Regions from separate parts of the Homo sapiens genome. Here regions 1 and 2 are each linked to region 3. The links are contacts of gene promoters, found by promoter capture Hi-C in blood cells and fetal thymus (Javierre and others, 2016). All regions are on one chromosome and are shown on one strand. Each heading gives the region's core, a stretch centred on a gene start or on the middle of the fragment in contact. The rest is flanking DNA. Distances are from core to core; before and after follow the strand shown.

The links. The method cuts DNA at HindIII sites, captures the fragments that hold promoters and counts their contacts. A CHiCAGO score of 5 or more calls a contact.
Region 1: a contact is called between a fragment that was not itself captured here and the fragment with the promoter of TRIM69 in region 3, in 5 of 17 cell types (activated CD4 T cells, non-activated CD4 T cells, total CD4 T cells and 2 more). The highest score is 6.6, in activated CD4 T cells.
Region 2: a contact is called between a fragment that was not itself captured here and the fragment with the promoter of TRIM69 in region 3, in 5 of 17 cell types (non-activated CD4 T cells, total CD8 T cells, naive CD4 T cells and 2 more). The highest score is 6.8, in non-activated CD4 T cells.

The regions. Positions count from the first base shown.
Region 1 is chr15:44,609,534-44,612,414 of GRCh38, reverse strand. SPG11 (SPG11 vesicle trafficking associated, spatacsin) reads left to right here. Exons shown (of 40, transcript NM_025137.4): 18 at 1,430-1,575. Among named protein-coding and RNA genes, the nearest start is that of SPG11, 53 kb to the left of the region's middle. The HindIII fragment of the contact is 6,165 bases long and covers 1-2,881 here.
Region 2 is chr15:44,645,991-44,648,756 of GRCh38, reverse strand. All of the region lies in intron 7 of SPG11 (SPG11 vesicle trafficking associated, spatacsin), which reads left to right. Among named protein-coding and RNA genes, the nearest start is that of SPG11, 16 kb to the left of the region's middle. The HindIII fragment of the contact is 2,562 bases long and covers 183-2,744 here.
Region 3 is chr15:44,735,127-44,737,862 of GRCh38, reverse strand. TRIM69 (tripartite motif containing 69) reads right to left here and starts at 1,335. Exons shown (of 7, transcript NM_182985.5): 1 at 1,153-1,335. The coding sequence starts at 1,158. The HindIII fragment of the contact is 591 bases long and covers 1,165-1,755 here.

The sequences.
Region 1 (2,881 bases), core at 187-2,686, 130 kb after region 3:
ATTAATTAAAAAGTAATACCTCCATAGGTAGATAGCCTAGGTACATAGGAAAATAACCACCCATAGGTAACCACTGATAATATTTTAATGTATTTTGTTCCAGTTATCTTCACTGTACTTTTTAAAAACTTAGTCTCTATTGTATTTCATTCACCCAACAAATATTTATTGAGCTCCTACCTTGTGACAGACTATTGTTAAGTGCTAGTAGAACAACAAGAAACATCTATGTTTTTATATACTGCTTTTTTGTGTGTAATATTATAACAGAATTTTCCCACATTCTTAAAGACAATGACCATTTTAGGCCAGGCGCAGTGGCTCATGCCTGTAATCCCAGCACTTTGAGAGGCCAAGGCGGGCAGATCACGAGGTCAGGAGATCGAGGCCATCCTGGCTAACACGGGGAAACCCCGTCTCTACTAAAAATACAAAAAAAAAATTAGCCCGGCTTGGTGGCGGGTGCCTGTAGTCCCGGCTACTTGGGAGGCTGAGGCAGGAGAATGGCATAAACTGGGGAGGTGGAGCTTGCAGTGAGCCAAGATAGCTCCACTCCAGCCTGGGTGAGAGAGTGAGACTCCATCTCAAAAAAAAAAAAAAAAAAAGACAGTGACCATTTTAAATGTTTACATAATATTTCATTGTATGGATATACCATTATTTAATTTTCTGTTCTCTCATTTTCCGACAATGAGGGCATTTTCCATTTTTTTCTATTATAAATAATAGTCTTGAATATATTTCAATATAAAACTGTCCTTATTTCAGATTATTTTCTTAGCACAGATAGGTTTTGGGATATAAAACTATTGGGTCAAAGGTTACACATGTTTAAGGTTCTTGCTGTAGGACCGGATTGCTTTCCAAGGGAGTTGTACAATTTTATTTTAAGTCCTAGTCTCTACTCACTGTGACCAGCTCTAATGCTTGATGATGAGTTTTTTTAAATTACTGCTAATTGGATAGGTAGTATATGGCATCTAATTAATTTGCATTTCTTTGTTGCTAGTGAATTATATAGTTTTATGTGTCAGGCATTTATATTTCCTCCTTCATAAATTGGTTATTTCTTTTGCCCATTTATCTGTTAGAGTCAGTATTTTTGGCATTGATTTGGATGAGCTCTTTGTTGAGAACAAACTCAGCAACTCTTTAGGTTGTCATTTGTTACAATTTTTCTCTCAGTTCATTGTTACCTTTTAATTTTCTTTGAACAGAAGTTTTTATTTTTATGTAGACAAATCTTTCATTTTTTCCCTCTGTGATGTTTTCCCATTGCTTTTAAATTTAGGAAGTCCTTTTTTTTTTTTTTTTTTTTTTTTTACTGGGGATAGAGTTAAAAATTTATGTTATTGTTCTCACATTTATGTAATCCTTAATTTAGTATTTATCCCTCTTAAGGAGAAAAACACTGTCTTTTATTTTCCAGATCCCAAACTGATCTTCCAGGCTAGCCTTGCAAATGCTCAGATTTTGATTCCCACCAATCAGGCCAGTGTAAGCAGTATGCTATTGGAAGGACATACCCTCCTGGCCCTTGCTACTACAATGTATTCTCCTGGGGGTGTCAGTCAGGTATGGATAGCACTTTATGACAAAATAGGACTGATTTTTAAATTTAGCAGAATTATCTATGGATTGTCTAGATCTCAGCTGATATTAAAATATAACTATATTCAAGTATTTCATTAGATTAAAGAGCAGAGGATAAGGCTGAATTTAAAAATTTTATATCTCGGCCCGGTGCAGTGGCTCACTCCTGTAATCCCAGCACTTTGGGAGGCCGAGGCAGGCGGATCACTTGAGGTCAGGAGTTCGAGACCAGCCTGGCCAACGTGGTGAAACACCATCTGTACTAAAAAAACTTCACTGGGCGTCTTGGCGCACGCCTGTAATCCCAGCTACTGGGGAGGCTGAGGCATGAGAATCACTTGAACCTGAGAGGCGGAGGTTGCAGTGAGCTGAGATTGTACCACTGCACTCCAGCCTGGGCAACAGAGCGGGACTCCGTCTCAAAAAAAAGAAAAGAAATTTATGTCATCTTCAGTTTAAAGTGAATGAAGCCAAGTGCGGTGGCTCACATTTGTAATTCCAGCCCTTTTGAGAGGCCAGGGTGGGTGGATCACTTGAGTACAGGAGTTTGAGACCAGCCTGGGCAACATGATGAAACCTCCATCTCCACAAAAAAAAAATTTAAAAATTAGCTGGGCATGACCGAGTGCGGTGGCTCACACCTGTAATCCCAGCACTTTGGGAGGCCAAGGCGAGTGGATCACTTGAAGTCAGGAGTTCAAAACCAGCCTGGCCAACATGCTGAAACCCCGTCTCTACTAAAAATACAAAAACTAGCCGGGCATGGTAGCGTACGCCTGTAATCCCAGCTACTCAGGAGGCAGAGGCAGAAGAATTGTTTGAACCCAGGGGGCAGAGGTTGCAGTGAGCTGAGATCGCGCCAGTGTACTCCAGCCTCTGTGACAGAGCAAGACTCCGTCTCAAAAAAAAAAAAAAAAAAAAAAAAATTAGCTGGGCATGGTGGCGTGCTCCTGTAGTCCCAGCTACTTGGGTGGCTGAGACACGATTACTTGAGCCTGGGAAGTCGAGGCTGCAGTGAGCCAAGATCATACCACTGCACTCCAGCCTGGGTGATAAAGTGAGACCTTGTCTCAAAAAAAAAAAAAAGCTGGGCGGGGGCAGGGAGGGGAATGAATATGTTATATAGAGATTATTTTTTCCCTTTAGTTTGTTTTCCAATACTCCAGATTTGTTTTCAGAATACAATTAGGATCTGCTTGCTTCTGGGAGTAAGAATACTTTAGATCTGTGGCTTAGTAATTATTGTCTACTATTTGCCCTCTTAGGTCAAAGGAAACTATAATCTTCA
Region 2 (2,766 bases), core at 214-2,713, 89 kb after region 3:
AGCCTTTGTATATCTATTTAAACAGTTCTGGCTGTTTCATTACCCTAACTCTGCTTAGCAGTTTACCCTTTTTGGCTTTAAAAGATATAAGATTATAGTAAATAATAAGAAAAAGGTACAGGAAATGGAGGCAACATTAAGCTAATGAGACTAAATGAAGTGGAAATAAGCTATGGAAAGCTTGAACAGTAATGATCTTTTATTCCTACCTTATGCTTCCTACTTTTTTTTTTTTTTTTTTTTTGACACAGGGTGTCACTTTATTGCCCAGGCTGGAGTGCAGTGGTGCAATCTCAGCTCACTGCAACCTCCGCCTCCCAGGTTCAAGCAATTCTCCCACCTCAGCCTCCCCAGTAGGTGGGACTACAGGCACGCGCCACCATGTCCAGCTAATTTTTGTATTTTTTGGTAGAGGCAGGGTTTTGCCATGTTGGCCATGGCTGGTCTCTAACTCCTAATTTCAAGTGATTCACCCGCTGTGTCCTAGAGTGCTGGGATTACAGGAGTGAGCCACTGCACCCAGCCTGCTTCCTACTATTCTGATCCAACTTCAGAAGAGGCATAACCTGAATTTATGTAAGATTTTATAATTCACAAACACTCTTTTACATGGAATATCTAATTTGGTCCCAAAACAACCATATGAGACAGATTGGGTTGTTTATATTCTTTTTATTTTACAGATGAAGAAACTTAGGCTTTCAGTGATTGAGTGGGTGACCCAGAGCCATGTTAATAAAGACAGGAGCTAGAATCAAGGGCAGGGTACCTTCTGCTATACTCACAGTCCCTGAAGTTAATAATGTTATGTGCCAGTTTCTTTAAATGACAGCTTTATTGAGATATAAATCACATACCCATAAAATTCACCCTTTTAAAATGTACAATTCAATGGCCTGTGGTATATTCAGAGTTGTGCAGCCATCACCACTAATTCTAGAACATTTTCATCACCTCAAAAAGAAAGTCCATAACCATTAGTGGCCACTCCCTATTTCCTGTTGTCTCCAAGTCTTAAACACCAATCTACTTTCTGACTGGATTTTTCTATTCTGGACATTTCATGTAAATTGAATTATAAAATATGTGACCTTTGTGACAGGCATCTTTGACCTAGCATGTTTTCAAAGTTCATCCATGTTGTAGCATGTCACTACAACTTCATTCCTTTTTATGGCTGAATATTCCATTGTATCAATATATACTGCATTTTGTTTATCCATTCATCAGCTGATGGACATTTGGGTTGTCTCCACTTTCTAGCCATTATGAATAATCCTGCTGTGGACATTTGTGTACAAGTTTTTGTGTTGACATATGTTTTCATTTCTCTGGGGTATATACCTAGCTGTGGAATTACTGGGTCATTTATTATTTTTGAGGAATCCCCAAACTTCCACAGTGACTGCACCATTTTACATTCCCATCAGCAATGTATGAGGGTTCTGCTAGCTGCACATCTTAGCTTAACACTTGTTATTGTTTGTTTTTTATTGCAGCCATCCTAGTCAGTGTGAAGTCAAAATGAAATGGCATCTCATTGTGGTTTTCATTTGTATTTTCCTAATGACTAAACATGTTGAACATGTTTTCATATGCTTATTGGCTATTTGTGTGTCGTCTTTGGAGAAATGTCTGTCAAATTAGGTTGTCTTTTTATTGAGTTCTAAGAGTTGTGTATATATTCTGGATGCTAGACTCTATGACATACATGATTTACAAATACTTTCTCCCGTTCTTTGGGTTGTTATTTCACCTTTTTAAAATTTTTTTAACTTTTATTTTAGGTTCAGGGGTACATTTGCAGGTTTGTCACATAGGTAAATTGCATATCATGGGGGTTTGGTGTACAGATTATTTCATCACTCAGGTAATAAGCATAGTACCTGATAGGCAGTTTTCAATCCTCACCTTCCTCCTACCCTCCACCCTCAAGTAAGCCCCAGTGTCTGTTGTTCTCTTCTTTTTGTTCATGTGTACTGTGTTTAGCTCCCACTTATAAGTGAGAACACCCAGTATCTGATTTTCTGTTCCTGCATTAGTTCACTTAGGATAATGGCCTCTAGCTCCATCCGTGTTGCTGCAAAGGACATGACCTCGCTCTTTTTTATGGCTGCATAGTATTCCATCATGTATATGAATCACAAATTCTTTATCCAGTTGATATGGTTTGGCTCTGTGTCCCCACCCAAATCTCATCTTGAATTGTAATCCCCATGTGTCAAGGGAGGGAGGTGATTGCATCATGGGAGCAGTTTCCCCAGTGCTGTTCTCCTGATAGTGAGTTCTCAAGAGATCTGATGGTTTAAAAGTGGCAGTTTTCCCCTGTACTCTCTCTGCCACCATGTAAGGCATGCCTTGCTTCCCCTTCACTTTCTGCCATGATTGTAAGTTTCCTGAGGCCTCCCAGCCATGCAGAACTGTGAGTCAATTAAACCTCCCTTCTCAGGTAGTATCTTTGTAGCAGTGTGAGAACAGACTACTAATACACTAGTTTGCCAACCTAAATGCCAATCATGGGCATTTAGGTTGATTCCATATCTTTGCCATTGTCAATAGTGCCGTGAGGAATATATGTGTGCATGTATGTTTATGGTAGAATGATTTATATTCCTTTGGTTATATACCCAATAATGGGATTGCTGGGTTGAATGATAGTTCTGCTTTAAGTTCTTTGAGAAATCGCCAAATTGCTTTCCACATTGGCTGAGCTAATTTACATTCCCACCAGCACTGTATAAGCTTTCCCTTTTCTCTGCAACCTCG
Region 3 (2,736 bases), core at 86-2,585:
TTCATTTGTTGCTTTTCAACCTTTATTCCTTCAAAGTAATTTTTAAACTTTGATGGGCAGTTTTTATGAAGAATTAACTTTGAGAGCAGAAAAATACAGTTCATCCACAGAGACAAACTATATAGCACAGCCAGCTTAAACCTAAGAGCAAGACACACTCCTGCTTCACGAGTCAAGCCATTTGCACATAAGAAGGCAAGATTCTGAACTTTCTGACTTCTTGGAGCTTCCCAGAGTTGAAAGAAATTTTAAGCCATTTAATTCACTCCTTTCCAACCTCTGCCTGAACATCTGAAGTAATGGGAAACTCACTATCACACAAACAATTTTTTTACTATTATGGAAAAGTGTCTATTTTCACTGACTTGGCCTTAAAGTAATAAGAATATAGTAGGTTTAGGCAATAGTGTTTATTTTTGCCCTAGAAATTATAAACAAAATGCTTATAGCCCTGTTTGCTTCAATAGCTAAGCACAGAGATGAGTAGCAGCAAACCTAAAGGTCCTATGATAGAGGAAATTAGAAACTGATCTTAATGATTAATATAATGAAATTAAACTTTATAAGAAGTGGAAACTAGTGGAAATGGATGATAACTCAGGATTCAAGGGCCCCTGAAAAACCCTTAGTGAGTTTTTCAAGCTTTCATGTAGTAAATAACCATTTTCTTTTGTTTGACAATCAGGAAAACACTAAGTTCAGAAGAACATAACTTCCTTTATTTTAGCTCTGAAGAGGTCTTAAAGGAAGAATTCAATTAAAAATGTTTACTATCTAAGTATCAACTCTGCCTTAAATATAAAATAATCAAATGTGAAGGTATTGTAAGCAAACCAAGTTATACATAATAATTTTTAAATCTAAAATAAAATGATTACATTGATAATGAAAGTAAATTGTATATAGTATATAGTTTATTTTTTCTCAAAATGTTTTGGTGGATTTCATTACTTTCCTACCAGCTTCTCTAGTATAAATTATCAGTTATTCCAAGGCTTGGAGAGAGTATAGTAGCTACCAGCTGTCACAAGTTAAATACTTCCCTTCATGAATTTCCTTTTGTGCTCCTAAATCCATATCCTCTTCTATGATCCTGTTTTCCACACTATTCCTAGAAGCCCTGCTAAGTTAAAAAAAAAAAGGGTCACTCACCTCCATGAAGCTTCAGCCCACCAAGGGGCAGAGGCAGGCACTTGAATCAGAGCTCAGCAGGCCCAGGATGGCTGCAGACTGGGAGTCAGGGACCTTTTAGTTTTCAAGGAATGGGCTCAGAGCATGATGGAAGAAAGAAAAGTTCAGGAGCTGGAGAGAAGCAGCAAGGCCAGAGTGAGGTCTGGCAGATTCCGTGACAGTTTGTCAGTTAACTTTGATCATCATTTGCTTAAGAGAAAGAGAAACCCTCATTAGAATACCCTACCTGCCCAACTTTTCTTTTGTAGGAGACAAGGGCAGCTCATTTAGATTCGAGTTAGTGGTCTAATCTTAAGGTTCATAGCTCCCCATTTCTGGACTAAGGATGCTCTATGAAAGAGGAAATACACGTCAGCAGCAGCCTATATTAAGCCTAACTCATGAAAAATAACCACCTCACCCCTGTTCATGATCCCATCACACCATCAAGACACCAGCTGAGTGGCTTTAATAGAGAGCTAGTTCACCTCTCATATTCCAATGAAGCAGCCCTGATTTTATCTCTGAGACAGTAACACAGGCCTGGGAAACACCAGGCCCTAAGAAAGCAGGATGAAAAAAGCTTCATTTCATACAGCTTTCTTCAGCAGTTTTAGCTCGCAGAGAGATGTACCAACACTGTGCTCCTGAGTGACTTATAAAGAGCCACCACAGAGCCAAACAGTTTTTCTTACAGTAGTTCCTCTAACTCAATATGATTTCTTGCACGTCTAGCTCCTGCCTAGCTGTCCAGACTTAATGACCACAGCTCTTTCCCCAGTGTTTGGGATCGCCCAAATATGTCACGCTTCTGCAGCTTTGTATATGTTGTCCCTTCGGATGGGAGTTTCCCTTCCCCCACACCCCCGTCATTATCTCTTTACTAAACTCTTCCCTAACCACCCCCTCATCCCCAAACCAAGCTTTACCCACTTCCCTGTCTCTTGTAGAAGATATTTTGCTGGCTCTATACCAGAGGTTACCAACCTCAGCCCTATTGATATTTTGGGCCTGCTAAGTCTTACGTTAGAGGGGCTGTCCTGTGAATTTTAGGATATTTAGCAGTGTCCCTGGCGTTTACACACTAGATGCCTGTAGCCACCCCCCCCCCACCAAACCCAGTCATAACAAAAATGTCTCCAGTCATTGCCAAATGTCTCCTGGGGGCAGGGGTTGGAATCACTCCCCAGTTGAGAAACACAGCTTTACTCCCTTCCTTCCTTCCTTCCTTCCTTCCTTCCTTCCTTCCTTCTTTCCTTCCTTCCTTCCTTCCTTCCTTCTTTCCTCTTTCTTTTTTTCTTTCTCTTTCTTTCTTTCTCTCTCTTTCTGTTTTCTTTCTCCCTTTCTTTCTCTCTCTGTTTCTTTCTCTTTCTTCCTTTCTTTTTCCTCTTTCTTTCTCTCTTGCTCTCTTTCTTTCTTTCTCCCTTTCTTTCTCTTTCTCTTTCTTTCCTTCTTTTCTTTTCTTTTTTCTTTTCTTTCTGACAGGGTCTCACTATGTTGCCTAGGCTGATCTCAAATTTCTGAGCTCAAGCTGTCCTCCCACCTCAGCCTCACAAAGTGCTAGGA